Regions from separate parts of the Homo sapiens genome. Here regions 1, 2, 3, 4 and 6 are each linked to region 5. The links are contacts of gene promoters, found by promoter capture Hi-C in human tissues and cell types (Jung and others, 2019). All regions are on one chromosome and are shown on one strand. Each heading gives the region's core, a stretch centred on a gene start or on the middle of the fragment in contact. The rest is flanking DNA. Distances are from core to core; before and after follow the strand shown. Region 1 has its middle 24 kb from the start of CRTC3. Region 2 overlaps CRTC3 (CREB regulated transcription coactivator 3). Region 3 overlaps CRTC3 (CREB regulated transcription coactivator 3). Region 4 overlaps IQGAP1 (IQ motif containing GTPase activating protein 1). Region 5 holds the start of FURIN (furin, paired basic amino acid cleaving enzyme). Region 6 overlaps CRTC3 (CREB regulated transcription coactivator 3).

Region 1 (3,239 bases), core at 553-3,052, 360 kb after region 5:
ACTTGAACCTGGGAGGCTGAGGTTGCAGTGAGCTGAGATCAAGCCACTGCCCTCCAGCCTGGGCAACAGAGTGAGATTCTGTCTCAAAAAAAAAAAGAAAAGGAAAAGATATTTAAGAGACCTATCAACTAAATGTAATGCATGGATCTTGTCTGGCACCTGATTCAAAAATACAAACTGAACAATGATAAGATGAATGGGGAAATTTAAACGGTGATATTTTAAAATTTAAAAATTTAAATTAAAAATGTAAATGGTGATATTTAAACGGTGTGATATTTTAAAATAATTTGATATTTTAAAATAATTTGTTAGGTGTGATGATGGGATGGGGATTTTTTTTAAGTCCTTATCTGTAAGAGCAGCGTCTCACCCCAGGCATTATTAATATTTGAGGCTGGATCATTCTTGGTTGCAGTGGGCTGTCCTGTTGCACTGAAAGATGTCAAGTGGCATCCCTCACCTCTACCCACTAGATGCCAGTAGCACCTCTTTCGTCAGGCCAATTAAAAATATTTCCAAACAGCCAAATATCTTCTGTGATTAAAAAAAAAAAAAACTGTGTTAGAGACATGTACTGCAGTATTTATGGTTGAAATGATACTATACCTGGGTTTTGTCAAAGTAACCCAAGAGGGTTTGGGCAGAGGTACAGGTGAAATAAGCTTAACTGTGTGTTGATAATTGCTGGGCTGCATGATGGACACATGGGTGCTCATTACATTATTCCCCGTTTATATGTTGAAAGTTCCCTGCAATAAAAGTTAAAAAATTATAGTACCAAAGGAGTATTAAAATATTTCTGTTTTCCCAAGCGTATTAACATATTGGATTAAATAAGCTATCTTTAAGTTAAAGAGTTATGAGTATAGGCTGGCGCCGCGGCTCATGCCTGTAATCCCAGCACTTTGGGAGGCCGAGGCGGGCAGATCACGAGGTCAGGAGATAGAGACCATCCTGGCCAACATGGTGAAACACCATCTCTACTAAAAATACAAAAATTAGCTGGGCGTGGTGGCGGGCATCTGTAATCCCAGCAACTCTGGAGGCTGAGGCAGGAGAATGGCTTGAACCCGGGAGGCAGACATTGCAGTGAGCCGAGATCACGCCACTGCACTCCCGCCTGGCGACAGAGCGAGACTCCATCTCAAAAAAAAAAAAAAGAAAAAAAGAGTTATAATTGGGTTACTTTAAAAGTCTTGGTAAATCCCCTTGTCTACTTCCCAAGTCCTGAGAAAGTGAATAATGTTTGCATGCATAATAAATTCTCCAAATTAGGTAATTATCTTTTTTTAACTTTTGCTTTCAACAAAGTTGGAGAACCTATTCATGTTATAACTTATTATAAATCATTGAGTCTTTTGGATTAGTTACTAAGGAGTCCTGAGAAATGTGTGACACTGCTGTAATGAAACACCCCAATGTTTCTCGGAGCTTACAGTTATAAAAATGAAAAATAGAAATAGAATTGGTCATGAGCCCCATCTCATTCTAGCAAGAATATTTGTCTACCATGTTTTTAAACTTTCATTTTAAAAGACTTTCATTTATCTCATCAATAAATGCATTTCATTAGATACCAATGACAAAATAAAAAAATGCATTTCAAATATCTTTTAGAATTGTCAAGATAAAATATTACATTACTGGGCCGGGTGCGGTGGCTCACACCTGTAATCACAGCACTTTGGGAGGCCGAGGTGGGCGGATCACGAGGTCAGGAGTTCGAGACCAGCCTAGCCAAGAGACCAGCCTGGCCAGTACGGTGAAACCTCATCTCTACTAAAAATACAAAAATTAGCCAGGCGTGGTGGAGGGCTCCTGTAATCCCAGCTACTCGGGTGGCTGAGGCAGGACAATTGCTTGAACCTGGGAGGCGGAGGTTGTGGTGAGCCAAGATTGTACTCCAGCCTGGGCGACAGAGCAAGACTCCAACTCAAAAAAAAAAAAAAAAAAAAAATTACTGCAATCAAATATGCACTAATAACTGTAACTATGCAAAATGTTTTTCTAGATTGGGTTAATAGGCTTATGGTCACGAAAACAAATTTTTATTTTTGTTACAGATGACCAAAAATAAGATGTCCTTTAAAATATTTCACTAGGGTAAAATTCTGAAGGAAGCAGAGTAGAGAAAAAAAACGTTAAATTTGTAAAGATTTAAAATTTCCAGGGGCAGGCATAGTGGTTCACACCTGTAATCCCAGCACTTTGGGAGGCCGAGGTGGGCGGATCACTTGAGGTCAGGAGTTTGAGACCTGCCTAACATGGTGAAATTCCGTCTCTACTAAAAACACAAAAAATTAGCCAGGTGTGGTGGCAGCCGCCTGTAGTCCCAGCTACTCAGGAGGCTGAGGCAGGAGAATCGCTTGAACCTGGGAAGTGGAGGTTGCAGTGAGCCGAGAACACGCCACTGCACTCCAGCCTGGGCGACAGAGCAAGACTTCTGTCTCAAACAAAAATAAATAAAATAAAATAAAAAAGAAATAAAAAAGAAATTTCCAACTAAGAGCTTTGTTCATGTACCTTTAAAAATGAATGAAGGTGGGTTCCATTCGATATTTTTATGGTCATTTTTATATTAAAATTCACATGCTAGCAGGTACTCTTGATTTAAACATTAAAAATGTATTTGTCAAACTTAAAATGTGTGAAGGGATGTATACGTTTTCCCAAATTATTTTCAGGGATACACAGGCAAAAGAATGAGCAGCAGGGCTGTGACAACCCCGTCTCCCTCCCCGTTGGTGCAGTGGCACCACCAGCAGCAGCTGGGACTCCATGGCATTCACTCTGCCATTGCTCTGGGTTCCATCTTACTTTCCTACTTTTTTTTCTTTTTGTTTTTTGTGAGACAGGGTGTTGCTGTTACTCAGGATGGAGTGCAGTGGTGCAATCATGGCTTACCACAAGCCTCAACCTCCTAGGCTCAAGCAATCCTTCCGCCTCAGCCTCTTAAGTAGTTGGGACTACAGGTGCGCACCACCACGCGGGCTAATTTTTGTATCTTTGGTAGAAACAGGGTTTCAACATGTTGGCCAGGCTTGTCTCCAACTTCTGATCTCAAGCGATCCACCCGCCTTGGCTTCCCAAAGCGCTGGGATTACAGGTGTGAGCCACCACGTCCAGCCCCTACTCTGATTTTCCCTCTTATTTTTCTTATTTAATGTTGCTATACCTTGATAAGCTTTTTTTTTTTGAGATGGAGTCTCGCTCTGTTGCCCAGGTTGGAGTGCAGT
Region 2 (3,278 bases), core at 356-2,855, 290 kb after region 5:
CAGCAAGATTTAGCTTCTTAGACACAGAACAGACAGATTACAGATGCTTAGAATCATTAGTAAATAAGAAAATTCAGGCCCTGTTGTAATCATTACTTTTAAAGATAACTAAACAGTTTACATCACGTTATTTAAATAAGTAATATATTGGCATTCTCAACAAATACCCTATATAACAGTGGAGAGTGACAAGGCATCCTCAATTCTCGCTCCCCTTCGACCCAGTTCCCACCTCACAATCGATACCAGATTTTTTGCTTCTTGTGAGTCCTTTGAAATACTGATTATGCATGTACAGCAAATAAGAATACATATTACTGCTGCTCTTTATTAAACATATGTGTATAATATAACTCTATACATGCATTTATAATTTACCATCTTTACCTTCTTTTTTTTTTGAGATGGAGTCTCGCTCTGTTGCCCAGCCTGAAGTGCAATGTTGCGATCTCAGCTTACTATACCCTCTGTCTCCCGGGTTCGAGCAATTCTCCTGTCTCAGCCTCCCGAGTAGTTAGTAGCTGGGATTACAGGTGTATGCCACCACGCCTCGCTAATTTTTGTATTTTTAGTAGAGACGGGGTTTTGCTATGTTGGCCAGGCTGGTCTCGAACTCCTAACCTCAGATGATCTGCCCACCTCAGCCTTCCAAAGTGCTGGGATTACAGGGCTGAGCCACTGTGCCCAGCCCATCTTTACCATTTTTAAATGTACAGTTCAGTGGTAATAAATACATTTGGCCAGGTGCGGTGGCTCATGCCTGTAATCCCAGCACTTTGGGAGGCCGAGGCAGGTGGATCACCTGAGGTCAGGAGTTCCAGACCAGCTTGACCAGCATGGTGAAACCTCATCTCTACTAAAAATACAAAAAATTAGCTGGACCTGGTGGCGCACGCCTGTAATCCAAGCTACTAGCTACTCGGGAGGCTGAGACAGGAGAACTGCTGAATCCGGGAGATGGAGGTTGCAGTGAGCCCAGATCGTGCCACTGCACTCCAGTCTGGGCAGCAGAGCGAGACTCCATCTCAAAAATTTAAAAATAAATAAATAAATATCCCTTTTCTTCCTTCATCCCCCTCTCCCTTTCCTGGCCTCTGGTAGCCACCAATCTAACTGTGTGTCATTGTGGTATCTACTTTTTTAGCTCCGACATATGAGTGAGAACATGCGATATTTGTCTTTCTCTTATTTCACTTAACATAAATGGCCTCCAGTTCCATCAGTGTTGCTGTAAATGATAGGATTTCACTCTTTTTTATGGCTGGATGATATTCCATTGTGTATACATAACCTGTTTTCTTTATCCATTCATCTGTTGATGGACAGTTAGGTTGATTCCATATTGTAAATAGTGCTGCAATAAACATGGGAGTGCAGATATCTCCTCCCTTTTTACACAAATGGTAACTTACTGATACACTGTCTGTACCTTACTTTTTAAACTTAATCTTCAACTAAATTTCTAAACCTGAATCCAATTTCTTAGAGGCTCCTTCTCAAAATAGCCAAGCAAAAATATTAGACAGCTCAACAAAATTAAAAGTCAAAACTGTCAGGGAACATATACCAACACTATAATTGACTTACTCTCTGCCAGACTGATTTGGCCAACTTCTCCAACCCCTTATATCCTTCTCAGTATTACTTGGTCCTCAAAGAACAGGATCACAGACTGCTTCCTCCTCTCCTCTATTAGCTCTTTCCATCTGCATTTAAATGTGGGCCAAAGGCTGGGCCTGGTGGCTCCTGCCTGTAATCCCAGCACTTATAATGGTAATGGGGAGATTGAAAGTGGCAAGATTAACTGCCGCTGGGATGTGCCACAGCTGGGAAGAGGAGAGCCAGTGTGAGCCACTGCATGGCAGCCTGAGCAAGAGGGCAATATTCTATCTCAAAAAAACAAAACAAAACAAAACAAAACAAAAAACAAACAAATGGCCCAGCCTCTCCCACGTAAAGCTGGGGAAGGAGGAGACACAAAAGTCGCTAACTTGCTGCATCATCCTATTCCTCCTCCTTGCCCCGGTGTCCCGGTGTCTCTCCTCTTCACAGCCAAGCTTTGTGATGAAGGAGTTGCCTCAACTCCACTTCCTCAACTCCCACAGACCTCAGCCCCCATCCCTCTGCTCCACCGAAATTTCCCAAGATAACCACAGACTTTGCACGCTACTAAATCCAAATGGGCATTTTCAGCTCCTGACCTCTTGGAACACTGGAAATTACTGACAGTTTGCTCTATTGAAAACATTCTTCTCCTGGCTCCTGGGGCTCCATGCCGTCCCATTTTTCTCCTACCTCTCTGAGTGTTTCTTTCCAGTCTTCTTCGCACACTCCTGAACTTCCTGACCATCCTTTAGTGCTGGGGTTCCTCAGGGCTCTGTCATATCACTCCATCTCTCTAGCCCAGATGTCTCTCCAGAGCTTCAGACTTATACATTCAACAGCCCACTGGACCACACTCTTCTAGGACTACCTGCAGGCACCTCAAACTCAATATATTTAGAAGTGAATTTGCCATCTTCCTCCTAAACCAGCCCCTATCTCGTGTGTTTCAAATCGCTGGGAATGGCGCCACTCGACGGCCTAACCCAGAAAGTTTGGGGTCATCCTTGAGTGCTTCCTCCTCATCCCTGCACATCTCAGTCATCACCAAGTCTGGTCATTTTGACCATCTATTTATTTTTATTTATTGTATTGTATTATTTATTTATATTTTAGAGATGGAGTCTCATTGTGTTGCCTAGGCTGGCCTCAATTTCCTGGGCTCAAGTGGTCCTCCCACCTCAGCCTCCTGAGTAGCTGGGACTACAGATGCAGGCCAGTGCACCTGGCCATTTTGACTTTCTAAACACCTCTTGAACCCAATACTATCCTCAACTCCTCATCTATCCATTCTCCCCTGGATTACTGCAACAATCTTGTCATTGGTCTTTTTGTCTCTAATCTTGTTTCCTCCAACCTAGTTCTACCCTGCAGTCAGAATAATCTTCCTAAAACACAAATCTGATCATATCCTTAGCTGCATAAAACCCAATAATAAAAGCATTTTTTAAAAAGACCTCAACAAGCCGATTTTAAAGTTCATTTGGTTGGCAGTAACACTGGTGTAAAGAGAATAAATAAATAAATAAAGTTCATCTGGAAAAATAAACATGCAAGAATAGCCTAGAAAAATCACCGAAAAGCAGCATGAAAGTGAATTAATCTTACCAGGTTTCTAAAATATAATATGAAGCTATAATCATTAATTAAAATAGTGTGATTCTGGTGTATGAATA
Region 3 (3,204 bases), core at 646-3,145, 270 kb after region 5:
CATATACATACACACACGTATATATAGCATAATGTTTAATCTAATATATAGAAATGAGAGCACTGACAGGAAAAAGAGGGAACTGAGAACTGAAAAAATATACATTGGTTTTTTTTTTTTTTTTTTGAGACGGAGTCTCGCTCTGTTGCCCAGGCTGGAGTGCAGTGGCGCGATCTCGGTTCACCGCAAGCTCCACCTCCCGGGTTCACACCATTCTCCTGCCTCAGCCTGGGACTATAGGTGCCCACCACCGAGCCTGGCTAATTTTTTGTAATTTTAGTAGAGACGGGGTTTCACCACGTTAGCCAGGATGGTCTCAATCTCCTGACCTCGTGATCTGCCCACCTCGGCCTCCCAAAGTGCTGGGATTACAGGCGTGAGCCACCATGCCCAGCCAAAAAAAATACATTGTTAAATCAATCAAAGAAACACTCCAAGTCTTTTGCCTGAATATTCTTGGCAATTTGGACAACGGTTTGATGTACCACTCCATCCTGACATGTACAAATTTGCTGATGAATTGCCTCCATTTCCTTTTGCCTTTTTCATTCAATGTCAAAGTTATCACACATTCCAGAATAGATTCTCAAGATCATTTATCATCTTTACTTTCCTTGATAACAGCCACATAATATACAAAATCAGAAGTCAGTCCTTCTGTGGACCAAATGTGGTGTGTTCCTGGGGGCGGGAGAAAGGGGAGAGAAAAACATTCCCTGGGGTCATTATCCTTGCCTCCAAATAGACTAAAAACTGCAAGAAGCTTGAAGGCAAGAAAAGTTGGGGTTTCCCTAGAGTGCCCCCACAACTCCTGGCTCCCTTGTACAAGGTCCTCATCACTGCGAATGGTCGCAGGTGGCATAGGGAGGGGAGAGCACAGGCTGGGCCATCAGCGGGGCCTGGTCTGAATCCTGGGTTACTTCACCACACACTCAGTTTCCTCATCAGAAAATGAGGGTTAAAAAAATTAACGACTCAGTGAGTTTTTGAGGACTAAGTGACACATAAATTACCCAGCACAGCGCCTGGCATGGGTAGGTGCTCAGTAAACATGAGTGCCCTGCCCCCACTTCCTGGTTTCTAGGCTTGTGAAGCCAACTCTACCATCACTGCCAGGAATTCAGCTCTCCGCAGCGAGACCCACCCCGCCTTTCTTCTCCTTCCTCCACCCCTGCGCCCGAGTACTGAGAAGAATGAAGTGAGAGCACGGGCCCTCCTGGCACACTTCTGTGTCCTCTCCCAAAAAATCCAGCTCAGTTCTGTTCCCCAAAGCCTTCGGCACAATGCTGGTCACACAGCTGCACCCACCACTGCCGCCCTGTAAACAGGACTGATTAAATGAAACTGTCAGGTGAATTCACCATTTCCTTTCCTTTATTTCTACTTAACAGCAGAGTTTGGTGTGACTGTACATCACTGCATGAGATTTTCCTATATTCTAGGTTTATTTTAGTTATCACTTACTGAGTTTGAAACATCACAAATAGAAAATAATATGAAATTTTGTCTGTAAGTTCCAAAAGCAGGTCAGCAGATCAAAAGAAGTACAAATAAATCACATATCTCTATGTCCATTTTTGCTAAAGAGACTAAGGCTCTCTAACCTGATTCAAAGTCAGGTTTAACTCTAACGTGGCCAATTTCTGGAGAAAATGCTCAGAACACCCTGCAATGGGACCGAATTACAGGTTGTTTTTGTTGTTATTTCATTAAACTGAACTTTATTGATGCTTTCATAAACACCTACAATGATGTTTCCAAATGTTGACTGCAGAGATGTTTCTAGTTTCCAACTCATTTATTTGTATTGCCTCCTTTCATCAGATAAATGAAGATTCTGAGGCCAAAGGAGAATTGCAGGGAAGATAAATCCTGAAAACTTTTCAAACATTTCAGAATGCACACTCCCTTTGAAGAGTAAAAAAGGATATTTGTCGCCCTGGCTTGTCCCCAGACCTTCGGTGGAGGGGGTGGAAGCGGTTCCTGGATGGCCTCTCCACCAGCCCGTGATGGCGGGTTCCCCGAACATTATCAGCTTGGTGAAATGACGGCTGCAGAGAGAAGGGAAGAAGAGTTGGCCTCCAACCATGAAATTGACACTCACCCTCAAGAACAACTGATAACAACAGGAGATGAAAGGACCGATTTTACAGTTTTACTTATTATACATTAGTGGGCCTTGGGTCAAGGTAAATAAAGTAGTATATGGAACTATTTCTTTATAATAACCATAAAATAATGACAAATAATCTGTAGTGTGTTAAGAGGAAAGCTGAAAGAATAATAAAAGTTGTCATGCAATTGGGGGAGGAGAATCAGAAGACGGTGAACTCATATACTAAATCCCAGAAAACTAGAAAGGACACTTTGAAATGTAAAAGAGGTATATTAAAGAAAGAAACTGGCAAGCCACGAGGCACCTATTTGTTCTGCACAGTGTCTTTTAAAATTTTTGATTGAATTCATAATGTTTGAAAATTCAGACTTGAGGATTCTAGGGAAAAGTCAGAATTTTTTTTGTTTGTTTGTTTTTTGAGATGGAGTCTTGCTCTGTTGCCCAGGCTGGAGTGCAATGGCGTGATCTCAGCTCACTGCAACCTCCGCCTCCCAGGTTCAAGTGATTCTCCTGCCTCAGCCTCCCAAGTAGCTGGGATTACAGATGTGCGCCACCACGCCCAGCTAATTTTTGTATTTTTAGTAGAGACGGGGTTGCACCATGTTGGCCAGGCTGGTCTCAAACTCCTGACCTCAGGTGATCAGCCCACCTCAGCCTCCCAAAGTGCTGGGATTACAGGCATGTGAGCCACCGCACCCACCCATAAATCAAAATATCTTGGCCACAATGAGCCGCACTCATCTCAGGCTCAAGTTGAGCATGGCTGCTCCCTGTAGATGGGACACCCACTCTCTTACTATGAATCCTTACACACAAACCATTTCACTGACTCATCATTTTAGACATTCAGAGTGTGTAACCCCTGAGTTAAAGAGGAAAAAAGGAATGCTATGTAAATACAAGTGGAAAACATACAAATCATCAGTCCCTAAATGATACAAATGAAAGCAGAAACAGATTGTAGATAAATTCATGGTCAATAAATCCAAAATCCTTTTTAAAGAGATGCTTGGGGTACGTTCTTAACATTTTTGAGACTGGTATCACAAAGGGCAACCTTTTTGGTTGTCAAAAGCCAAATCCTAGGC
Region 4 (3,139 bases), core at 49-2,548, 380 kb after region 5:
CCACATTCTGTACTTTTCTTCTATCTACCAAGGCATGTAACAGAATTCAAAATATATAATATTCAATAAATTGCAGTGAACCCTACACATTCATGGTTTCAACCAACCCTGAAACTGTTTGAAAAAAAAATACAACAATACAAAATAATACAAATTTTAAAAATACAGTAACAACTATTTACACAGCATTTATATTGTAGTAGGTATTATAAGTAGTCTAGAGATGATTTAAAGTATATGGGAGAACGTAAGTATATGCAAATACTACAACATTTTATTTATTTATTTATTTATTTATTTATTTATTATTATTTTTTGAGACGGAGTCTCGCTCTGTCGCCCAGGCTGGAGTGCAGTGGTGCGATCTTGGCTCAATGCAGGCTCCGCCTCCTGGGTACATGCCATTCTCCTGCCTCAGCCTCCCAAGTAGCTGGGACTACAGGCATCTACCACCTAGCCTGGCTAATTTTTTGTATTTTTAGTAGAGACGGGGTTTCACGTGTTAGCCAGGATGGTCACAATCTCCTGACCTCGTGAACTACCCACCTCAGCCTCCCAAAGTGCTGGGATTACAGGCATGAGCCACCATGCCCGGCCAAATACTACACCATTTTATATAAGGGACTTCAACATCTATGGATTTTGGTATTGGCCGGGGGTGGGGAGAATGGGTGCTGGAAAGAATCGCCTGTGGATACCAAGGGATGGATATACGGGATGGGCACAATGATTCTGCATGCAAGTGCCAGTGAGCTTCCTGTCCAAAGGACATCACCTGGACTCAGGAAGCAAAAACTTTCTCAGACGAGCCATAACTACCACTGTCCCCCAGTTACATTCATGCTCACCCCTAGGCTACCAACTGTTATTTGTGTCTCCCCTCCTTTCTCTGACATGCGCCTATCGGGAGAGCTTATCTACCAAACAAAGGAGTATGTTAGACCCTAAATTTTACCTGTTCACTGGTGGCTGGTGTTTCTAGGATTTCAGTCAAGGTCTCTCCTGGCTGGAACCGGATGACATCCACAATTAAACGTTTTGTACTGAAACGAGATGGGGGAGGCATTTAAATATTACCAGTGTTCTAGTTCCTCTCAAGTGGACCGAAGCAGCAGCAGCAGCAGCAGCACAAACAGTACCTCACAGAAGTCCCAAGCGGCAGCTGCCAGTACACAGTACTCAAGGCACAAGGCTTATTTACCCAGCCATTCCATAAGTAGGTACGAGGGTTAGGATTTCCAAGATTTACATTTCACTGTAGCATATTAGCAAAATAAGGCAGATAAGTCCTGTACCAAGTACAATATGCGAGGTGATTGGTGACTGGGATTATGACAAGTACGAGAGGTCAGGATGGTCATTTCAGGTAGGACCCAGCAGGTTCCTCTCCAAAGGCCAAGAAACCTTCAGATTACATTCATTTCATTCTTCCTTCTTTTGATACTCACTTCAGTAAGATGGTTCGAGCATCCATTTCTGCATTCTCATCTCCAGGCACGTCGAACTTGTTGGTCAGGGTGAGAGACACTTCCGTCTTAGCCAGTGCCTCCTTATTTGGGTCATTTAAATTGCCAGAGCTTTCCCCTGAAGTTTTGGGAGGGTGGAAAGAGTCAGCGTAATAAAGAGAGGAGATATTGGGGGGAAATAATACAAATATAAGATGATGCAAGTCTAAGATAATACTTGAATCACCTAACACATACAGTGTGACGAGAACAACTTTTACTGAGAAATAAAATGTTATGCCAAATGATAAAGGCAAGGGATCCATAATAACTCCATAAATGTTTGAGAAATCATTTCAACACTACAATATCACAATTCTCTCTGAAAACATTCTTTCTGGCTGGGTGCAGTGGCTCAGTCCTGCAATCCCAGCACTTTGGAAGGCTAAAGGAGGAGGATGGCTTGAGGCCAGGAGTTCGAGACCAGCCTGGGCAACATAGTGAGACTCCATCTCTATTAAAAAAAAAAAAAACAACTCAGGAGGATCACTTGAGCCTAGGAATTTGAGGCTGCAGTGAGCTATGACTGCACCACTGTACTTCAGCCTGGGCAACAGAGGGAGACCCTGTCTCATAACAAACAAACAAAAAAATTCTTTCCTTTAGAGGACTTTTAATTTATGTATCTGCAATTTTTTTAAAAAAACACAAGCTGGCAGTATGTATCTGCGTTTAAAATGATCTTTTCCTCTGACTCCAGTTCCTTATAGATATTGATCACATCTGGGCTTTTGTTGTTGTTGTTGTTTTCTCTCTTATGAAACTATCAGGATCACATCTATTTTATTTCTCAATGTATATCCAGAGTTTGGTATAGTGCAAAAAATAGAGGAGGTGACAATTACAACACTTTTCTGTCACATTCCCTTTTGATCTTCCAGGCAAAAGTTAGAACTCTACCTATCAGGGACTCGATGGTGGGCACCTCGCCGAGGTCGTCCAGCAGTTCGTGGATTGGATCATTGTGCTCCGGAGCAATGGCATCCTGGTGATCCAACAGGAGCTGCAAACACCAATGATCAACTCCATTTATACATTCAACTCTTCAGCCCGTCCCTCCCTAGAATGTCTAACAATGATCTGCACAAAGAGGTTCCAACAAAGTTCCTATATTCAAAGAAACAACAAGCAAATCCTCAGCAAACTAACCCAAATAAACAATATGATATATAAGGCACCACACCAGGCTCTGTTGAATGACTTATGTTATGATATAAGAAGAGGAAATACTGGTATTCTCTTAACCTCATGGCCATAAAGGATTCAAATGTGCCCTGTTTGAGAAAGAACACTGGCTGGGTGCAGTGGCTCACGTCTGTAATTCTAGCATTTTGGGAAGCCAAGGCGGGTGGATCACCTGAGGTCAGGCGTTCAAGACCAGCCTGGACAACATGATGAAACCCTGTCTCTACTAAAAATACAAAAATTAGCTGGGCGTGCTGGTGTGTGCCTGTAATCCCAGCTACTAGGGAGGCTGATGCAGAAGAATTGCTTGAACCCAGTAGGTGGAGGTTGCAGTGAGCCAAGATTGCGCCATTGCACTCCAGCCTGAGTGACAGAGCAAGACTCCATCTCAAAAAAACAAAACAAAACAAACAAACACAAAAAACCCACAAAACACTGAAACTCAAAGT
Region 5 (3,122 bases), core at 206-2,705:
CAGTTGGCCTTGTCCCAAAGTGGGGACTTCCCCTCCGCCAAGGAACTAAGACTTGTAGGGGCCACACTGGGTAGCGCCAGCCACAGTTGGGAGAACAATACTCCAGCAGTCAGACTGAGGCAGGAAGTGACTCACGCTTCTTCCTTAGGCTGTGAGCAAGAGAACTCCATTGAGGGGAAACAGGGACAGGGCTGGCCCCACCTACCCACTTGTCCTCAGGCCTAGAAGAAAGGTCAGCCCAGAAAAATAGCAATACTTGCTGCTTCAGGTGCCCCACCCATCCTGGAGACTGGCCCCAGGGGAGCCCGCAGTGGGTCTTTGGAGGGGGAGGGGCTAGCCTAGGCTCAGATGACTGCCACCCAGGCAGAGGCGGTGGGAAGTGGAGCTTCCCAGTTTCTTCCAGCCAGCTTGCCTCTTCAATCTGCATAAGGCAAAATTCTTTAAAGTGGGTTCTCAGAGGTGCCTCCCTGAGAGGGAGGAATGAGGACAGGATTGGGCAGTTGAGCACCTCTCTCTGCTTCACCCAGAGTGTCTCACATTTTAGGGTTTCACATGAGATTGTATTTTACAACAATTCTGCTGCTAAAAAGAATTTGAAAGCCACTCTCTGTGAGACTTCTCTGGAAAAAAATCCCATTTGACCACAACTGGTGACTTCTGCCTTTATCTCATTGCAACAAGTCCTGTGGGCAGGTATTGTTCTCTTTATCACTCTCAACTGGCCCTGGAGCCCAGGTCTCCTGACCTGGGGCCCTAGGGGCCCAAGGTCCTCTGGATCCCACCTTACCAGTTTTACACAGCAGTTAGCAGGACTTGGGCATGTGACAGAAGTCTGGAGATGAGTGAGAGGAGCAGGGCCTGATGGGTAAGTGGGGGCTGTAAAGGGGCTCCATTTTCCCAGCAGGGCTCTGGGAGGAAGAGTCCAGCTAGGCCTCTCTTTATCCTTGATTTGGGGCTAATCCAGAGAGGCTCCTGAGAATCACATAGTCCTAAATCCACCCAGTCATCCTGACTCCAAGCACTCCTGTTGTCTCCTTGGGGTGCTCTGGGAGTCTTCTCTGAAATCTCTGGTCCACCTCAGGCACAGCAAATAAAGCCTTCGGCAGCAGCACCCACACCTAGTTGTAAGCAGAATGTCTACACAACATTCAGACGTGCATAGAAGGGTGCACAACAAAATTCCATTGGTGTTCTCTCCGAATGAAAGGGTCACATTTGCGATCTTTGTTTTCTTCTTTTTGCCTACCTGCATTTTTCAGGAATGTCTACAAGAACTCCTAAAATAATTAAACCTTTAAGTCAATGCAAAATCGAATAAAGCATGTCCATACTTCACCATCCAGCTCCAGAGCACCTGGGATTCATCCTGGCCGCTGCTGCTTCCCCGCCACTCACTGCAGCTGCAACAGTCAGGCTCCTATCCCTTCACAGGGCGGGGCCCTTCCAGTTCTGGCTAAACCACTTTGGGAAAACCTTCTTTATATGACAGGCAAACAGGGTGTCTGTGGGTGGGGGGAGGAGCTAAAAGTGATGTGGTGGTGACATATCTGGTCGCACTGGAACTGGATCCTAACATGGCCAGCCAGCCCTTCTCATTTTCCTCATTTATTGGGGTGGGTCTGCACTTACCTTCTGCCTGGCTTTGCTGCATCCCAGCCACTGGCTGACTTAATGACTTCCTTCCGCCAGCTCCAGCTCCTTGTGTTCTGCCTTGCCTTCCATGGCCAGCCAGTGCTGCCACAATTATGTACCTAATAAATGCTTTGGGTGCAGTCTCGCCTGGCAGACATTCATTGAGCAGCTGCTGAACGCTGGGCTCTGGTGCCCCATAGCTGGGTCCCTTAGAGCTTGTCCATAGGAAGCCAGAGACCACCTCTCTAGTAGGGTTGCATGGAGGTACCTGGGACACACCAGGGTCTTCCTCAGTCTGCGACCTCCCTGGCCTTCCAGCTTCAACAAGCCTGCTGCCCATCCTTCTCTCTCTCGATTCAGAAATGTGAATCACTCAATCCTCATAGTTTTTTTTGTTTGTTTGTTTTATGGGTTTGTTTTTTTTTTTTCTAGACAAGAGTCTCGCTCTGTTGCCCAGGCTGGAATGCAATGGCCTGATCACAGCTCACTGCAACCTCTGCCTTCTGGGTTCAGGCGATTCTCATGCTTCAGCCTCCCAAGTAGCTGGGATTACAGGCTTACGCCACTCGTATTTTTTTTTTTTTTTTTTGTATTTTTAGTAGAGATGGGGTTTTGCCATGTTGGCCAGGCTGGTCTCGCACTCCTGACCTTAAGTGATACACCCACCTCGGCCTCCCTAAGTGCTGGGATTATTAGGCGTGAGCCACCACGCCCGGTCCCCTTGTTGAGTTTTCAATCAGTTTGTCATCCTGAACAGGGTTTCTCAACCTTGGCATTATCAACATCTTGGGTCGGATAATTCTCTGTAGGGGACACTGCACTCTACATTGCAGGATGTTCAGTCGCATCCCTAGTCACTAAACATTAGCTGCTAGTAGCATTCCCGCTCCCATGATGACAACCAAAAAGATCTCCAGGTATTGCCAAATGTCCCTTGGGAGACAAAAATCTCTCCCAGCAAAGAACCACTGTCGCAGAATGAGGAGTGGGAACGTCACAGGATGGTGGTTAGTGTGCCAGGGTTCGAGGCAGCAAGAGTTGTCTGCTGGGAACTAAGCTCTGAGACAGCTAGCAGTGAGGGAGAAAACTCCCAAACTTGAAACTGCCCAGTATGCCAGCACAACAATGGGCCGTTTAGTGATCAGGGCAAACAATCATGCATCCTCATGACATCTGAGATCACTTTCCATCGTGTTGGTGATAATGCTGAATCAAGGAAAGGATCAATCATGTTGATCATACTCCATTTTCTAAGGTGGGGAGGTGTGTGAGCCCTTGTAGCATTAAAGACGTATTTGGAAAACAGATCAGTGCTTGCTTGGGGAAGGGGGCAGGGAGGGGCGGGAGGAAACTTTTGGGAATGATGGACATGTTCATTATCTTGATTGTGGTGATGGTTTCATGGGTGTGTCCATATATCAAAACATATCAAGTTGTACACTTTAAATCCATGCCGTTTATAGTGTGTCAGTTATACCTCAGCAAAGCTG
Region 6 (3,169 bases), core at 15-2,514, 310 kb after region 5:
TGGAAATCTATGATCAGAAATATGGATGACTCATACATAAAAGTGTTTATTACCATATTATTCATTAAAAAAATCAGAATCAACTAAAATGTCCGTTGGGGAAATGCTTGTAAATTATAAGTCATATATGATGAAATATTATTTAGCTATTAAAATTATACTTATAAAGTATTTTAATGACATAGGGAAATAATTATTATATAATGGTTGAAAAAGAAAAAAATAATATAAATATGAAGACTGATATCACCTGTATAAAGATACATGAAAAATAAACTTAACATTAAAATGGTAATCTCTAGTTGATGAAAAATGGCTCATTTTTTCTGTTCCTTTTTAATGTTTACATATTTTCCAAATTTTACACAATGAGCACATATTACTTTTATAATGAAAAACAAAGAATTAAGGAACAAGCTATAAACAAATGCAATGTATTTTCCTGAACGTAAAGGTTTAAAAATGGAAGCTAAAAAAGAAAAAGAGGCCAGGCATGGTGGCTCACACCTGAAATCCCAGCACTTTGGGGAGGCCAAGGCAGGCAGATCACTTGAGGTCAGGAGTTTCGGACCAGCCTGCCAACATGGTGACACCCCGTCTCTATTAAAAATACAAAAATTAACTGGGCATGGTGGTGCATGCCTATAATCCCAGCTACTCAGGATGCTGAAGCAGGAGAATCACTTGAACTTGGGAGGCAGAGGTTGCGGTTAGCCAAGATCATGCCACTGCACTCCAGCCTGGGTGACAGAGCAAGACTCCATCTCAAAAATAAAAAATAAAAGAAAAAGAAAAAAGAAAAAGAACACTAGAGTTAACGTCTTTGTGCTATAGTTATTGTATATCCTCCTAGTCTATCATACTTGATTATGAGCTTCTTAAACTGATAGTGTCTGCATTTTCTTCATAAACCAGATAATATCTTACTCATAAAGGCACTCGATAAATACTTATTAATGAATAAATTCAGGGCAAGTTACAGTAGCTGCTTAATATAATAAAAAGTGATTTTAATAGTCAGAACAAATGTTTCCTGGCATCTATATATGTTTAGGCAAGATAAGAACAGTTGGGCTTTGGGGGATAATGATGCTTTGGTCTGGGCAATCAACTAAAAAGGGGGGCTGCCACATGGAAGAGCACGAGTGGTACATTCTGCAGCAGAAATGACAGCACCCTAAGGCCAGCAACTCTCAAATTTGTTTTCTGCCCCCACACAAAGCACTCACCTTTCACATGTGCATCCCCCACCCGCATATCCCAACAGCTGTAGATATAGCCAGAGTATGGCCAATTGTAGAAGGGCAGGGCTGTCTCCTCCAGGCACTCTCCCACTTCTCAAAATAGAAGTGAACAGCAATATTGTCAGGGTGGGGATACCCTTGATTTAACTCTAATTATTTTAAAAAATAATTCCCAACCATTGGTACTTTTAGTAAGAAACATAACTTGTAACCCAACCCATAGTGGAGTACAACACTCTGGTGTGGGAGGATCCCTGGTTGAGAGCTGCTGCAGTAACAACAAAACCATAAGCATTTACTGCACCAGGCGCTTCACACGTATTATCTGATTTCATCCTCACCAGGTCCTGTGAAGTAGGTACTAGTAACACTCCTACTTTACAAATATAGAAATGGGACTTGGACTTAAATAGGTAAGCAGCAGTGCTAGAACTCAAAGCCAGGCTGACGCCCAAGCCTACGCTGTAGTTGTGGCAATAGAGGTGTCAGCGATGGCAGAAGGAATTACAGCAGTGGAAGCAGGAGCAATAGGAACAATTATAAGAGGAAATACCTTGGCTGGTCATGGTGGCTCATGCCTGTAATCCCAGCACTTTGGGAGGCCGAGGCGGGAGGATTACCTGAGGTCAGGAGATCGAGACTAGCCTGGCCAACATGGTGAAACCCCGTCTCTACTAAAAATACAAAAATTAGCTGGGCTTGGTGGCACACACCTGTAATTCCAGCTGCTCGGAAGGCTGAGGCAGAGAACTGCTTGAGCCCAGGAGAGGGAGGTTGCAGTGAGCCAAGATCACGCCACTGCACTCCAGCCTGGGTGACAGAGCAAGACTCTGACTCAAAAAAAAAAAAAAAGAGGAAACACCTCTAATGTGCTTGCCTTGTGCCAACCACTGTTCTAAGGGTGTTATGTATAACAACTCATTTATTCTTCTCCACAAAACTCTGATATTGGCATTAGAACTATGCCCATTTTACAGGTGAGAAAAATGAGGCAAAGACATGCTAAGTGGTTTGCCCAAGGTCACACAGCTAGAAAGTGGCAGAGGCCACATTTGGATTCAGAGTATGACCCTTTTGCCCATCACACTATGCAGCCTCTGTACTGCCCTAAAGCTTCTGCCATAATATTTTAAGGCAAAGTATATGTTGTCACTTTAGTACTTGTCGTATTTCTTTTCAAGTAGATCATTGGTTTTATCCCATGGATAGACTTCTCAGGAAACATTCCCATCTCTTCCAACTTTACTGGCATGAAAATTTTCGATTAATGGAATCTGATTCAGTCTTTTAAAACATTACTTGGAGGGGTATTTTAAAGATCTCAAGTATCCATGCTATTGCTGCCCCTCCACTGCATGAACAATTGAGAGCACGTAGGAGGCAGAATGAAAATGGCAATATTCCAGTTCTCTTGCTCAAGTTCTCATGGGTACAGATGTTCCTAATTCAGTGTGTGGGACCAACGTTTCCCCGCCCCTTCTATAATTTCAAACAAAGGCTTTATCCCAGATGATTAGAGATTCATGAGTTATCTACTTTTCTCTCTCATTCTATAAGTCTTCTATTCAACATGTACGGCTAGATAAAAAGGAAGGGAAAAATGATTCGAATATGGATTAAAAATACGACAACCATATTCTTGGTCACAGCTCCTATTTCGGGACAGATGCACATTCCAAAACTATTAAGTAACCCCCTAACTCTCTGTGCTTCTCACTATTTCCTTAGGCAGAATAGAAGGACATGCTGCTGGAAGTCAAAATCAAAGGCAAACCAGTGAGCACATCACACACAGACACAGTACAAAAATCAGAGTTGCAAAGTGCATGTAGTTCAGGAGGTACGAACTCTTAAAAAGAATTCAGACAAGGTCAGAAAAATGTCAATCTCTGAAAAAGAAAATAAGAAACAACATAAAATAGATG

The links. Contacts are between HindIII fragments. The study calls those that stand out against the background at their distance.
Region 1: a fragment that was not itself captured here is called in contact with the fragment with the promoter of FURIN in region 5 in 2 of the 25 tissues and cell types used here (lymphoblastoid cells and mesenchymal stem cells).
Region 2: a contact is called between a fragment that was not itself captured here and the fragment with the promoter of FURIN in region 5, in 1 of the 25 tissues and cell types used here (lymphoblastoid cells).
Region 3: a fragment that was not itself captured here is called in contact with the fragment with the promoter of FURIN in region 5 in 1 of the 25 tissues and cell types used here (spleen).
Region 4: a contact is called between a fragment that was not itself captured here and the fragment with the promoter of FURIN in region 5, in 1 of the 25 tissues and cell types used here (mesenchymal stem cells).
Region 6: a contact is called between a fragment that was not itself captured here and the fragment with the promoter of FURIN in region 5, in 1 of the 25 tissues and cell types used here (lymphoblastoid cells).

What each region holds. Positions count from the first base shown.
Region 1 is chr15:90,503,942-90,507,180 of GRCh38, reverse strand. No RefSeq gene overlaps it. Among named protein-coding and RNA genes, the nearest start is that of CRTC3, 24 kb to the left of the region's middle. The HindIII fragment of the contact is 5,406 bases long and covers 1-3,239 here.
Region 2 is chr15:90,575,677-90,578,954 of GRCh38, reverse strand. All of the region lies in intron 2 of CRTC3 (CREB regulated transcription coactivator 3), which reads right to left. Among named protein-coding and RNA genes, the nearest start is that of CRTC3, 47 kb to the right of the region's middle. The HindIII fragment of the contact is 6,379 bases long and covers 1-3,278 here.
Region 3 is chr15:90,592,483-90,595,686 of GRCh38, reverse strand. CRTC3 (CREB regulated transcription coactivator 3) reads right to left here. Exons shown (of 15, transcript NM_022769.5): 3 at 1,932-2,051. LOC124903555 (a long non-coding RNA gene) reads left to right here. Exons shown (of 2, transcript XR_007064758.1): 2 at 1,825-2,327. Among named protein-coding and RNA genes, the nearest start is that of CRTC3, 64 kb to the right of the region's middle. RefSeq lists an enhancer at 1,123-1,623. The HindIII fragment of the contact is 6,602 bases long and covers 1-3,204 here.
Region 4 is chr15:90,485,399-90,488,537 of GRCh38, reverse strand. It overlaps IQGAP1 (IQ motif containing GTPase activating protein 1), which reads right to left. Exons shown (of 38, transcript NM_003870.4): 31 at 2,406-2,508; 32 at 1,449-1,584; 33 at 956-1,043. Among named protein-coding and RNA genes, the nearest start is that of CRTC3, 43 kb to the left of the region's middle. The HindIII fragment of the contact is 4,223 bases long and covers 1-3,139 here.
Region 5 is chr15:90,866,921-90,870,042 of GRCh38, reverse strand. It overlaps FURIN (furin, paired basic amino acid cleaving enzyme), which reads right to left and starts at 1,455. Exons shown (of 16, transcript NM_002569.4): 1 at 1,332-1,455. RefSeq lists enhancers at 1-284, 222-331, 70-364, 432-481, 1-923. The HindIII fragment of the contact is 14,305 bases long and covers 1-3,122 here.
Region 6 is chr15:90,553,134-90,556,302 of GRCh38, reverse strand. The region is part of intron 2 of CRTC3 (CREB regulated transcription coactivator 3); the gene reads right to left. Among named protein-coding and RNA genes, the nearest start is that of CRTC3, 25 kb to the right of the region's middle. The HindIII fragment of the contact is 5,201 bases long and covers 1-3,169 here.